Regions from separate parts of the Homo sapiens genome. Here region 1 is linked to region 2. Evidence: promoter capture Hi-C in human tissues and cell types (Jung and others, 2019). All regions are on one chromosome and are shown on one strand. The core of a region is centred on a gene start or on the middle of the fragment in contact, and the rest is flanking DNA. Distances in the headings are between cores, read along the strand shown.

What was found. The method cuts DNA at HindIII sites, captures the fragments that hold promoters and counts their contacts. A contact is called where the count stands out against the background at its distance.
Region 1: a fragment that was not itself captured here is called in contact with the fragment with the promoter of PLEK in region 2 in 1 of the 25 tissues and cell types used here (IMR-90 fibroblasts).

The regions. Positions count from the first base shown.
Region 1 is chr2:68,915,778-68,923,291 of GRCh38, forward strand. It overlaps the pseudogene GKN3P. Among named protein-coding and RNA genes, the nearest start is that of GKN2, 33 kb to the right of the region's middle. The HindIII fragment of the contact is 7,656 bases long and covers 1,421-7,514 here.
Region 2 is chr2:68,361,080-68,368,348 of GRCh38, forward strand. It overlaps PLEK (pleckstrin), which reads left to right and starts at 4,203. Exons shown (of 9, transcript NM_002664.3): 1 at 4,203-4,314. The coding sequence starts at 4,273. LOC101927723 (a long non-coding RNA gene) reads right to left here and starts at 5,325. Exons shown (of 2, transcript NR_187652.1): 1 at 4,336-5,325; 2 at 138-1,380. RefSeq lists enhancers at 1,162-1,231, 4,163-4,242. The HindIII fragment of the contact is 28,571 bases long and covers 1-7,269 here.

The DNA.
Region 1 (7,514 bases), core at 3,999-6,498, 560 kb after region 2:
AATGAATGGATACCATACTCCTTAATAGACTGTCAGCAGTATCAGGTCAGGGACCATGTCTAACGTGTTCATTTCTGTCTCCTCAATACTATTATAGTGTCTGGCATATTGTAGATACTTTGATATATTTGTTAAAATGAAATGAATTGAATCCATTGGAAAGGCAAAAAAGCAAACCCAGCAAACAAAAGAAGATAATATCATAAAAGATATAGGGTAGGCTGTGTAGGACCTGTAGACTCTAGCCAGAAGAAAGAGAGAGCAAATGAAGGCCTGGTGGTGATCAGTATAATCTAGTAAAATGCCAAGTTCAATTTGAGTCTGAGAAGATGCTACACTTCCCAATCTGTCTCAGCTGAAGGAATGGAAAGAAATGTGGCAGCACCAGAACAGGCAGGGGTCATTCTTGGCACAGGCAAAGACTGTTATTGATGCCAGGGCAAAATGAATGAAGCCTGGCTCAAAGTCCAGGCTCAGGGTTTCAAATTAAGAGTTGAAAGGCCAAAAAAAAAAAAACAAAAACCCACCCCAATCCTCTCTCCTACCAACTCCCCCAATCCTAAACTTAGAATACAAGCAAAGCAGGTGTATTGCCAACTGGGCTGTCCTCCAGGAGGGAGAAAGCCAGGCCAGCCACGGGGAGCCCAAATATGCTGACAGGCAAAGAGGACTGGGTGGGAACCACAGCAAGTGCTCACTTATTCAGCCTGGGAGGGTTTAGCCCTGGACAAAATCATGAATTTGGCAATGTTGGTTCACCAACTCTCAGAAACTTGGCTTCTGGATCCCAGACAAGTCTTAAATCTGCTTTCCTTAATGTGAAGTTAAGTCCTCTAATGCTTCCCCATGTCCCTTTCAAAACTGCTTACAGTTGAAATAGATGACAAATCTCTGCTATGATAAACATCTCATCTCCCCTAGTTGACAGAAGGCTCTTTAGGGGAAAAGACTTTTTGTTTTATTCAACTTTGAGAACTCCACAACCCCTAGGACCTATTCTGTAGAAGATGCTCAAGGAATGTTTGTTCAAGAAGTGAGTTAATTAATGAGTTAATGACTGGGACACTTCAATATATTATTTCTCCTATGGACCAAACTTATGTCTTGATAGCATAAATTTGGAATAAGTTTTAAATAACTTATTCCTTCATTAGGAAAATGCAAATCAAAACCACAATGGGGTACCATCTTACCCCCACTGGGATGGATATAATGAAAAAAGTAAGTGTTGATGAGGATGGCTTGATGGGTCCTCAAAAAGCTAAACATAAAATTACCATAGGACCCAGAAATTCCACTCTCCTGGGTGTGTGTATACCCAAAAGAATTGAAAGCAAGAACCCAAACACATACATGTACACACATGTCCATAGCAGCACTATTCACAATAGCCAAAAAGTAGAAGCAACCCAAATGTTCATCAACAGATCGATGGGTAAACAAACTATGACTCATGCATACAAAGCAATAGTGTTCAGCGATAAAATGGAATGAAGTACTGATATTGTCATGTGAATGAACCTTGAAAACACACTATGTTAAGTAAAAAATTCCAGACACAAAAGGATATATATTGTATGATTTCACTTGTATAAAATATACAGAATAGGTAAATCCATGCAGACAGAAAGCAGATTGGTGCATGCCAAAGTCTGAGGGAAGGGAGAATGAAAGTAACTCCTCAATGGTTATCAAGTTTCCTTTCAGGGTGATGAAAATGTTCCAGAGCTAGACAGACATGATGGTTGCACAACTTTTTGGCTGTGCTAAACGCCAATGAATTGTCACTTCAAAATAGTTAATTTCATTTTATATGAATTTAACCTCAATTTTTAAAAAATTACCTCTCTTATGGCATAATAAATTATCCAAAACATGAACACAATTAACATGTATTACATTACACAGTTTGAGAGTCAGGAATCCAGGAAGGCTTAGCTGGGTGGTTCTCACTAGAGTAGCTCATTGGGTTTTAGTCAAGATGTTGCCCAGGGCTGCAGTCCTCTGAAGGCTTGACTGGGGCTGGCAGATCTGCTTCCAAGATGGCTCCTCACATTGCTCTTATCAGAAGGCCTCAGTTTCTTGCTACATAGACCTCTCCATGAGCCTACTTGAGCATCTTAAAACATGGCAACTGGTTCCTCCAGAGTGAATGATCCATGAGTGTACAAGGCAGAAGTCATAATGTCTTTTATGAACTAACCTAGAAAGTTCCATACCTTTATTTCCACAATATCCCATTGGTTGCACAGGTCAACTCTATTCAGAGTGAGTGGGACCTATACAAGGATATGAATTCCTGGAAGCAAGTATCCTTGGACATCATCCGGAAAGCTAGTGATCACTCCCCATTCTCCCTTACATAAGAGATAATAATGAATTAATGCATCATCCACTCAGCCTAAATTTGACCACCAAAAGTGGAGTACAGGAGGCAGCCTTAGGAACACATGATAGAAAGCAAGGCAAACATTGCCTGTGAATATTATCTGTTGGGGGAATGAGTAGATCATGACTGAGTATGTGCAGAAGTTGCTTCATGCACATGCGTTATAATGAGAACCTATATCTTGCAACAATTTCCTGGAAACCCAAAGTTTCTTTGAGACAAGACTCTCCTAAGTAATGGGAGTATTGATCTCTGATAACAAGACATCTAACTCATAATAGCATATTGGGGATGTTGTAAGGGAACTAAGGAAGGGGGTCTTGCCCCCTCTTCCTGTCTCCCAGTTTTCTTTCACGGGTTATTACATGCTAGCACATAGCTTCCTCAACAGTTCCTAGGCATGTCCTACTGCCCAAGCCCAGGGCCACTTCCGTCCCTTCTCTGAAATGGCAGTTTTGCCAAGGTTACAACCGTCAGCGCCCAGAAGGTACTCCAATAAGACAATAGGCGCAGTTGTGTCATCTCATGAGTCAGAGCTTCCAAGATCCTGCCCCAATCAGATTGCTGATAAGCACATTCCTGAAAGTTAGGCAGATCACTGAAATGTTACCAAAGTCTTGACTTGGGCGTAACACTATAACACTATTTGGATGCCTTCATGGAAGCAAGGGGGCCAACGGCTGGCCACTTTTCATTTGGAGAGAGAAAAAAATGATCAGGCTGTTTGGAGTTTTCAATTGAATAAAAAAATTAGAAATAAGAGAATTCAGCTTTGTAAAAGACTATGTCAACTACCTAACAAGATGGGGTGGACTGGGAACCCGAGCTGCCAATTTACCTGGAATGAACTTCAGAAAGAAGTGGGGTAGATCAAGCCATTGAGGTTGGGTGCACATAGAGAAAAAAATAAGTAGCTCAGGATAGATACAAGATGCTGCAAGATAACGTGTGCTAACATACTGTGCCTACTCAGAGGTTCCTGCTTTAGAGAAAATATTAAGGACAAAAGAAAAGGCACAGAAACATCCAGGGAAACTGAGCCAGAAGGAGAAGAGCTAACAGGAGCACAGCGGGATCAGGGCAGTTGGTGTCCTGGAAGGCAGGAGTCCTGGGTTCCTGGATGTATATAAAAATGCAGGAGGTGAAGAAGGTGAGAGGAGAAGATCCGCAGGGTAGAAGAGGGAGGAGGTTGAAAACAGCCATAGAAAACAGATGAATATAATCATAATTGAATATAGAGATGGAAAACAAGTGGCACATGCATGAAGAAGGCCAGGCGTCCTCATGTGTATCTGACTGAATGGAAAGAGCTAATGAAAAACAACCAAACCAAGCAACAATATGAGAAGGAGAGTTTGTATGTGGGCCATAATGATGTGATTGGGTTACTGACTTATATTTTTTATTTGCTTAGAGATTAGGGGAAAAATACAAGTATATGGGCCAGGCACAGTGGCTCACGCCTGTAATCCCAGCACTTTGGGAGGCTGAGGCGGGCGGATCACCTGAGGTCAGGAGTTCAAGACCAGCCTGGCCAACATGGTGAAACCCTGTCTCTGCTAAAAATACAAAATTAGCCAGGCATGGTGGCACAACCCTGTAATCCCAGCTACTCGGGAGGCTGAGGCAGGAGAATCGCTTGAACCCGGGAGGCGGAGGTTGCAGTGAGCCGAGATCACGCCATTGCACTCCAGCCTGGGCAACAGGGTGAGACTCCATCTCAAAAAACAAAACAAAACAATCTACTCTGTGTCAGGTACTATTTTAAATATTAGACACTAGAACTACAGCAGAGAACAAAACAAAGTCTCTAACCTCACAAAGTTGATAATTAAGTGACATAAATATCCAATTTAATGTCCTGATCAGACAACTGTACAAATAGATATAACACAACAAAAAATATAAATAGCCAAAGTAAGGTACAGGCAAGGAACTGTGATGATTCCAACTTCTTTAATAACTTCTTTAATAATTCAATAACTATTGAGTTTGTGGTCTGTGCATGGTGTTTTTGAAGTACTGAGAGCAATAGAGATATGAGTATGATATTATCTGAGCCCTGGGTGACCTATAGCCCCCTAAATGCAACTGCTTGATGTTCCTGTGGCCAATTTTTATTAGGCACTGTAAGGACTGAGCTGTCTGTCTTTCCTCCTTGGGTCATTCCAGTGCCCAGGCTTGCCCATACAGAGCACATGTTCTCAGAAGAAGTGTCTGTTTGGTTCTGGCCTTCTGGAATTTGATCCAGGTAGCTGGGCCACCGCTAGTCAGAGCTTGAGGAAAAAAAAAAAAGATAATGTATGAAAAGGCCTAAATTCATGCTTGACTTATTATATAAAGGCAATATTTTCCTATGTCTCAGGACTTCCAGGGCTAGTCAAAATATTCTTTATGGAAAAACGTGCCCTGAAATGAAAGGTCAGAGGAGAGAAACAAGCCATGTAGCAGGAGCAAAATATCAGGACATCAGGAAAGTCCACCAGGGTGGATGTTTGAAGAAGTGAAATGAGGTCAGCTTGGTGGGTAGACAGAGGGCAGCGCAGGGACAACCACATGATTTTTGGTTTGGATGAAGAGCGGGACCAGATTGCTTTTCAATCAGTCTAATTGTGTAGTTCAGCCTGTCTCTTTTGGTTTCATGAGGTTTGTCTCAATCACTCACACTGTTAGTAAAAACACTTTTAGGGAATTGAGAAGTAGAAACAGTGAGCTCATTGATTTTTATATCAGAACCATTTTGTGAGATCAATGTTTGCAATGTTCACCTTAGTTGCTAAGGTCATGGGCATACCAGCCCACAAAGATTTGCTCATATGCCATGTTTATCTTGGAACCAATGTTTACCTTGGTATCAGGGTAAAGAGAAATACTCAGATGTAGTTAAAGAAAAGCAATAACTGTGATTACATAAACTTGCGTTTTTTCCTCCCTGAATGGTATCCGGATCATAGGAAACTACCCAGAACGCCTTATCATGGCAATAGTTGAAAGGCATAGGACTATATAAAACAGATTTAGAAAATAAATGGGACATAGAAAATTCTTCTATGCATGCTGTTGTGTGGGGTATGAGACACCATGAAACACCTTGTAAGTATATTTTCTAATTTCAAATGTAGGTGATTATGTTCTCAGAGCCAAAATAGCCAGGGAGAAGTTCTTTTTTCCCCATGGACTCTTCAAATTAAACTCAAGGGGAATTTAGAATTTTCAAATATTAATTTGAAAAAACATAGCCTCTCTGTTTTGGAACATCTGAACAAAGAGTCTCTCCCAAAGGAAGTAATAACTAAGTTCTTAAAGGTCCAGAATCCTTGGGGGTTACATAGATATTCATATTTTAGGGTCCTCTCTTCCTAGACTTGTCTTATTTACAAATTTCCAGTGAAGGAAAGTTTCAAATATATTTAATATATACCAACCCTAATAGTTTCATAAAATAGTGTTGCTATTTGCAGCTCATATATTTCCTCTATTAGCCTTACAGCATCATGATGATTATTCATAGAGTAGCTGTTTTCTTTTCTTTTGTATATGTATCTTGCCTTTGTTTGCTTTCGTTGCATGTGGGATATTGCGGGGTGGGGGAGAAGGCGAGTTCCTGAGCCTTCAGTAGACCAGATGAGAATGAGGTATGGAATGTGGGGAAACATTCATTGTGCACTTTCTCACCTTGTCCTGTTTCTGCTCCCACCAATTCTCTCTGACTTACTCTCTGATGCTTAAAATTCCCTCAACAAGCAAGTAGGCCACACTGAGAAGAAATGATTAACTGCAAATATTTCAATAATTAGTCACATTTAATTAGCACAATCTATTTCAAAATAAAGTGCAAATAAGTGGTTCACGGTCTTTTATTCTCAGGCAAAGTGGAGAATCTAGAGGAAAGGAAATCAGGAGGATATCAGTTTCCAGAGAGGGCAGAGAGGGAGTCTCAAATGCTTGGAAAGAGAGAGGAAGGTGCAGAAAAACAAGACTGAGAACCTGAGTTATCATCACTTATTTTACAATTTGGCCTGAGATGGTCCTTCCCCATGTGCGCATCAAGTGGTTGGTCAGGTTGCCTAATATTTAGCCCAGTGATTAGCAATACATGCAGAGTGAAGCAAAAGGTATCCTTGACTGAACTATATAAAGCTTTGTCTCCTGAGTAGCCAGCATATCAACCATACTGCGTGACAGTCTCCTGATACACTGGGTCCCCCATGCCATGAAAGAGGATGGGAGTTAGAGATCATTAAAAGAAGGCTCCAGCCCCAGCAGGGCTTGGGGCTCTGGACTCTGAGCTCACCTGAAGCTAAGGCAAAAATGCCCTGATATTTGTTTTCATTTCAGGTTGCATCTTCCATCCTTGGGGTCTTCGTCCTAACCCCATCCCTGGCCATGATGGTGAGTAAGGATGGAAAGAGTTCAACCTGTCTAGTCCTCCTTTAGCAGAAGCATTTTAAAAGGTGATAATTAAGGGCAACCTCCTCAAATTTCCTGTGGGTACCCGTAAAACCTACAAGGCATGGGCAAAGTAGGAACTCTGAACTTTCAACTTTTCTCACTGTTGCTTGGTTTTCTCCAGAACATCCGTTTCAACCATCCTTTGTATGGATCTTTTGGGACTCAAATTATCCATATTGGTGCCTTCCAAGGTATGGTCAGCATCCGAGACAACAATATTTTCAGTGAATAGGACGGAATCCTGGACTACAAGAATATAAGATGAGAAACACATTCATTACAATGTGAAAGAAAGCCACGTCTGGTCCAAAATGTAGCCTTATGCTTTTCCAGAGAAAGAGGACATTCGCCTTCTCTAGGTTTAGGTCCTTGATGGGCATGCACATCATTAGGTAAGGGAACAGCTTCCCTGCAGTTGCAGTGACTTCTTTTTGAGCCAAAAAATATAGGGGGAATTCCAGCTGGTCTATAGGGATCCTACATCCCCTATGTTCCTGTGAGGTGTTGACTTCACACGGCCACCGAAGGCCTCTGATCTCAGAAGCCCCCATGTCTTGTAACTGGTATGTGCTGTAGAAGTTATTTTGTCTTGACTTCTGATTTTAATGTTAATTTCCAAAGAAGAAGAATGTTGTATTTTCATTTTTAGAAATCTGACTGCAACTTGCCCATC
Region 2 (7,269 bases), core at 2,953-5,452:
TTTTGACACCTTTTACTTAATTTATATTTAGCACTAGAGGTAGTCTGATATTTCTCAGCTAAATTTAATGTCTCTTTTGAATTACCAATGCTAAAGAATAACTTTGAAAAAGATAAAACGATGACTCTTACATATAATAGAATGAAAACATGTCAAAATTTTATTTAACTCATGAATTAAAGGGGAAACTAGCCAGAGGTCACCACCAGTTCAAAGGCAAGGTCAAAGACCAATTTATATAGAGTAAAGCAACGTTGAAATTCATTTACCAATGGACACAAAATTGACTTTTTCCATGGGAGGCGGGGTGGAGTGCGGGTGTGGGGTAAGGTGGAGTCTACTGAACTTCCATCAGGCAGAATTTATTTGCATGTTTATAGACAAGAATTATTTGTATTTATCCACAATCTACCGAGCTCTAGAATAACTCCAAGACAAGAAAAAAACACAGATTCCATAGAAACAAATAACTTAGAAAAGTGTGCTGTAAAGAATGCATAGTTTTCCATTGGAGATGCTCAGTAATCATTTTTGCTTATTCAGAAGTCTTAACTTGCCCTTACAGCAATAAAATGTGCTACAAGAATAATGTTTCCAAGGTTATTGATCAAATGTGTACAGAAAGAGATGTTAAAAAGTCATTCTAGGCTGGGTGCGGTGGCTTACACCTGTAATCCCAGAACTTTGGGAGGCCAAGGCAGGCAGATCACCGGAGGTCAGGAGTTCAAGACCAGCCTGGCCAGCATGGTGAAACCTTGTCTCTACTAAAAATACAAAAATAGCCGGGCGTGGTGGCGTGTCCCTGTAATCCCAGCTACTTGGGAGGCTGAGGTGGGAGGATCACTTGAACCTGGGAGGTGGAGGTTGCAGTGAGCCAAGATCAGGCCATTGCACTCCAGCCTGGGCGACAGAGCAAGACTCTGTCTCAAAAAAAAGTCATTCTAGACACATATACATAAGATACTGGAGGAGGTTCTAATGATCTGATCTGGGAGAGGGATCTGACACAGCAGAAGAAAACTTGGTCAAACTCTGTTGAGAGAAGTCCTGAAAGGCGTCATTGATTCAGATAGTTCTCTTTACTGACCACTAGGTGTCGCTAAGTAGGCGCGATGACACGTGGCAGGAGGGGGAGGGGCAAAGGCGGCAGCATCCAGTCCATCAATGGCGATGTTCAGCAGATTCACAAATGCCGGAGGTTCCTTGGTGTCAAGACATTTTTACCCCTGCACCTATTCAGGCGCCTGGTACATACTAAACACTTAATACCATGTTTCTTGAAATGAATTATTCGGAACGCAGGGGGTGCTTTTACACCGGAGGCATCCAAAAATAATATGAGGTTTCTGAGTGAGGGTTCTTTAAAGCCTTCTGATCATGCTAGGACAAACAGTGAAGACATTCCAAATTAGAAGTCACTTGGTCAGTTAAACAAAAGGAGATATATTTAACTATGAAATCAGACTTGGTAAATCTAAGAGTGGTTTCCATTGACTATACAGACATAGCAAAATACTTGTTTGAGTGCAGATACAGAAAATTACCCTTTTATTTGTTCCTGTTTTGCTCAGGTGACATCAAACGTTGATCCCTCTACTCTCAGCCCCCAACACTTTATAACAATTTCTAATTAATTTTGGTGCAATGAGAAACTGAAAAGAAACCATCAACGATTTTAAGTAATGGATATTAGCATAAAATGAAAAGTGAGAAATACAGGGGCAGTGACTGTTAGCTAGAAACACAGCTGGAGGGAAGAGGAGAGGGAATCAGGAAGCTCTCAGAAAACCCCAAGAACAGAACTTCTTCTTTCCCCTAACTTTCCTGGCTCCTCAGATGCCCTCGTGGACGTCTGTCAGTTTTGCCTTTCTCGGAGCCATCGCTCATCTATTGTTAATAGCATCTTGATTTTACTTTAGGGGACACCTCCCTTCTCCCATTGAGCATGGTCCTGCTGGGGCTGTCGGTTCACATGTTCCCCCTTCAGATACCGGAGAGAGAAGCACTAGGCCAAGTTAGGCCAATCAGAGGCCTGATCCCTGGAGACTACTGCAGAGTCTGAAAACCACTGGCATTCTTTCATCTTGGTGTCTTGCTTCCTGGAACCCCACAACTGCCCTGATTCCTGTCCTTTCAAAGACCCCAGTCTTCATTTTTCCTGCAGTCTGTGGGCCACTCCATTCTCTTCCAGTAAATTCCTATTTGCCTCTATTAGCCAGAGTTGTTATCTGTTGATTGCAGTGAAAGAACACTGACGGGTGTAATGAGGAAAATCTAGTCCTACGATTGCTTTCATCATCTCTGTTGAACTTATCATTGAAAAGGATCAGCTCTAGGATAACGGAGATTTGCCTTGAAGATGAAGAACAACTAATATTTATGGATACTAGTTATGTTTCAGACACTCTTCTAAATACTTCCATGTCTATCTCATTTAATCTTCAGAATGACCTCATTGGATAGGTGTTATTATCCCCGTATTACAGATGAGAAAACTGAGGCACAAAGTAATAACAAACTTGCTCATTTTCACATGGTCAGATTAACGGGTCTCTAAGTTTATTCTATGGAATATTCGTTTTTCAGGATTATATTGGTTTCCTGGGGCTGCCATAACAAAGTACCACAAACTGGTGGCTTAAAACAATGGAAATTTATTGTCTTACAGTTCTGGAGGCCGTAAGTCTGAAATCAAGGTGTCGTCAGCACCATGTTCTCTATAGCAACTCTAGGAGAGAATTGTTGCGTGCCTCTTCCAGCTTCTGGGGGTTGCTGGCCATCCTTGGCGTTCCTTGGCTTGTAAATGCATCACTCTGTTGTCACATGGCTGTTTTCTGTGTGCCCTTTTCTTATAAGGACACCAGTCACATTGGATTAAGGGCCCACTTGTTTCAGTATGACCTCATCTTAACTAATTATATCTACAATGACCCTATTTCCAAATAAGGATGCATTCTGAAGTGCTAAGGGTTAGGACTTCTTTTTTGGGAGATCTAATTCAATTTATGACAAAAAAAGTTAACATAAATTGTTCAAAAAAGAATGCTATGGCGAAGTAAGTTTGGAAAACACCATTATAGGATTCTTTACTGTAGTACTTTGGCGGGGCGAAGGTCTTTAATTTGTTCATCATTTAGAGGAGTTGCCAACCTGGGATTATTTTGTAAAGTTTCTCAAAAACCTGTTTGATGATGGACTTCTTTTTACAGGCTGACTGTGAGATCAGCACTCAACGTGGAACACCTGTTCTCATGCCTGATGTGAGGCAGTGGCACCCTAGCACATCCCTCCCTGGTTCTTCTGCTTTCCCCTGTGACCTGCAGCGTCAACTTGAGACAACTTTTCTTCTCTGAGCCTGAGTTTCCTTACTCTAAGATAAGGAAAATAATATACTTTCCCTATGGGTTTGATGTGTGGACTCATTTTTGTTGTTGTTTGTTTTGAGATGAAGTCTTTCTCTGTCGCCCAGGCTGGAGTGCAGTGGACCAATCTCGGCTCACTGCAACCTCCGCCTCCCAGGTTCAAGTGATTCTGCTGCCTCAGCCTCCCGAGTAGCTGGGACTACAGGCACACGCCACCATGCCCGGCTAATTTTTGTATTTTTAGTAGAGACAAGGTTTCACCATGTTGGCCAGGCTGGTCTTGAACTCCTGACCCCAGGTGATCCATCTGCCTTGGCCTCCCAAAGTGCTGGGAGTACAGGCGTGAGCTACCATGCCTGGCCGATGTGCAGACTAATTTAGTTTAAAATAAGTAGGCTGAGAAACACTTGATACAGGGCTTGGCATAGAGAGAAGTAGGCATTCATTTAGTAGTTAACTTTGTTATGCTAACCAGATGGTTCTGAATTTCTTGGCATTTTTATTGGGCATTTCCAGGATCTCAAGAATAATCCTTACTCAGGACAATTTTCACCAACAAGTTTTTCTTGTTCATCTTCCTCTTCCTTTCATCACTTCTTTTTCTCTTTAAAAGAGGGATTTTCTGTATGGTAGTAAGAATTTCCCTTAGGTAAATATTCAACCCAACTGTGGTTTTAATAAGTCTCCAGCATTAGCAAGGAATGGGTGGTTTACTCTGCAGTTCCTTATTCTGATCTTCCAACCCAGTGAGGGGAAGAGGATGTGATCATGCGACCGCCAGCAGAAGGGAAATTGTGAAAGCGACCTGCTGTAGAAAAGGCGGCCCACAGCCACCTCAGCATGCAGAGGAGGCCCAGCTGCTGAGAGGAGTTGCCTGAGAGTGACCTTTGCATCTGCCTGTCCAGCCAGCATGGAACCAAAGCGGATCAGAGAGGGCTACCTTGTGAAGAAGGTGAGCGAAGGTGCCACTTACCAGGGTGTCAGTGGACATGGGCTGGGGAGACTTGGGTTCAGCTCCACCGGCTACCTGCTCATCTTAGGAATGTTTCCTGTTCAACCAGTTGGGTTGAAATAGGGGAGCGTGGTAGCACATAGAATGTTGGAGTGGGGTTAGGGGAGTGGGGATACTCATCCAGCCCCGGCTTCCTTACAGTTTGATATTACGGGTCTGAGAATTCCAGATGGCAGGGCCTGGAAGGTGGGGATCTAAGCTAACTCCCTCCAGATTTAGAATATCCTTTTTAAGAGGCACACAGATGTGTTCTGTCAGAAGATATACTCCTCTTCTATGGAGGTTTCTTGGAGGGACTATTCATTTTTTATTTAAATTCCACTTCCCCTCAGTTCTTTTTTTGGGAGGCAAGGGGAAAAAAGTGATTAAAGAGTTGATATAATGATAGAGTAATTACGGCTTATTTCTTGGGCCATCTTCTTGGAATTGACACGTTTAAAAAAAACCTTATCTTTTTTTAATTGGGCTGAAATCTCTTCACTCACAATTCTTAGTAAATTTGCATAATGTGGCATCGAGGTGGTAGATGCACCATTTTAAAGATTAGGGTACTGAAAAAGGCTTAGCCTCCCTGGTGTGCATCATGAAAATTGAATTTTCTTAGTGCTGTTTGTCTTTCTTCGGATGCTGAGTGTGTGCTGTGTGGTTGTGAAAGCTCCCCGGGATGTGAATTCACACATAGGACTTGGTGTCCTGTGGGCAACACCTATATACACAGATATGCTCACACTAACCTTAGTGAGTGGATTGTTTCAGAAATGAGCTGAACGTAGTGCCTTCCTTCAGGTGCTTAGCTTTTTAGTTGAATGAACAGTGAATGTGAGTCTGTTTTAGGCTACTCATTTGTTTCACGTTTTAACCTACAATGTTCTACCTGTAAGGGGGGTTAAATAGCACACATTGCTGCCTGCTTCCATTTTGACTTCAGGCTGGAGGGACCCTAGGTCATCTGGCCTAATTCCTTCATTTGCAGAAGAGGAGACAGACCCAGAAGGCTCGGTGATTGCCCCAAGTCACATGGCTATGACAGTTGTGACCAGCCACTCCTTCTCTGATGCTTAGGTTTCTGATTCATGGCACTGAACTTTGTTCATTACTCCAGCATTTTCTTAAAGCAGATTTATTCCAAGTTAGGATTTGTAGTGTATTTGTGATGGTGAGAGCTATGAGTTGGTACTGGAGAATAAGTGGGCCCTCAGCTGCTAATCTCTGTAGCCAGCTGTGCTTCGAAACATCCTTTGGAAAAGACACACTTATACATAGAAGTGTAAAAGATTACTTGCAATAGGCACCAATAATAATTGGCGAGACCTGGTAATAATTAATATTGACTTATTCCTTTCCTGATCACTTGTGCTAGTATCCTGAGAAGAGCAAGTGAATAGGAACATTTCTGCAAGTTTTTGTTTGTTTTTTTAAACAATTAAAAACATCTTGCAATGAAAATTGCTGTTATAAAGTTTGTATGCTCATATTTTAATCTCCCTAAATTACAAAAATATGAAGACTAAATTTCTAATAAGTGAAGCTGTCTCACTAAAAATTGGGGATGATAGAGTCAGGGTTGTCAAGCATGTGGATTTAAATTAATAAATAGTTTTTAATTAGTGAGAGTAGTTCTCTCAGATTGTAAAAGCCAATCTAGAAAATGTGCCTGGAATTAAATAGTGAAATTTTGTATTGATAGTTTTACAATTTATATCTTCCATAATTTTCATGTTTACAAGTTACATCTTCCATAATTACTGCATTTTTCTCTGGGACCTTTTGAACACTCTGATATAATGCATTAAGATTCTCTTTTTTTTTTTTATTCTTCTAAAACTTTAATTTTAGGTTCAGGAGTATAGGTACAGGCTTGTTATATAGGTAAACTCCTGTGACAGGCGTTTGTTGTACAGATCATTTTGTTACCTAAGTACTATGCCTAGTATCCAATAGTTATTTTTTCTGATCCTCTCCCTTCTCCAACCCTCCACTCTCACATAGCTTCCAGCGTCTCATTTGATATTTTAAAGAAATGTTTGGTCCAGAAATATTCCCTTTTTCAGCTGCAGAACTAAACCTAAAGACAGAGTTTCCTGAGAAGGTATTAAAGTTCTTAACTACTTTAGACATTAAGTTTCCTTCAGTTACCTCACGTGTGGGTTAAAAACTGTATATGTCAAGAATCTGACATATAATTGGTGTACATAAGCTGCATAAGACACTGATTATTTGTATCAGCATCAATATATGCTTCAGTAGATAGTGGGGCCTCCCCTAGATGTTAATGGGGCTATGTACTGGTTCCTGGGTTGGTTGCCAAATTAATTATGAAGGAAGGGCCATAAAAATCTTTGAAAAGGCTCTTAGAAGCCTTGGCTATGGTTTTTGATATTAAAGCATGAAAAATAATATAGTGAATCTTCCTCCATTCACCTTTTTCTCTTATGCAGTTCAAGATACCTGGGTAGTAACAGAGAACATCTTTGTCCTGTGTCTTGTTTTATGAAATAATTTTATTGCAGATAAGTTGTTTTGGGTGGAAAAAATATAGCATTAGAAAATGCTGGTGCAGGAATTTTGTCAGGTCAGAAATCTTGGGGTCAATAGTGTTAACTGTAAAACGTTTCTGCTTTTCTTCTGTGCAAGATGACTGTTGACATTTCACAATCCAGGTTTCCTCTTTTGCCTCCTGAATAAGATCTCCAAATGAAGACAGTGGTTAAGAGGGGGAGGGAAAATACAAGATTCTGTCATTTTCCAGCTTTTTCATTCCAAGTAACACCCATGTCTCTTTGCCTCAGAGTCTTTCACCTTACTTTTTTGTTTTAAAAAAGAGCACTTCTAGCCAACCATGGAGCAGCAAGCTGCTATACGAACATGACTTCATTTAATCCTAACCACCCTATG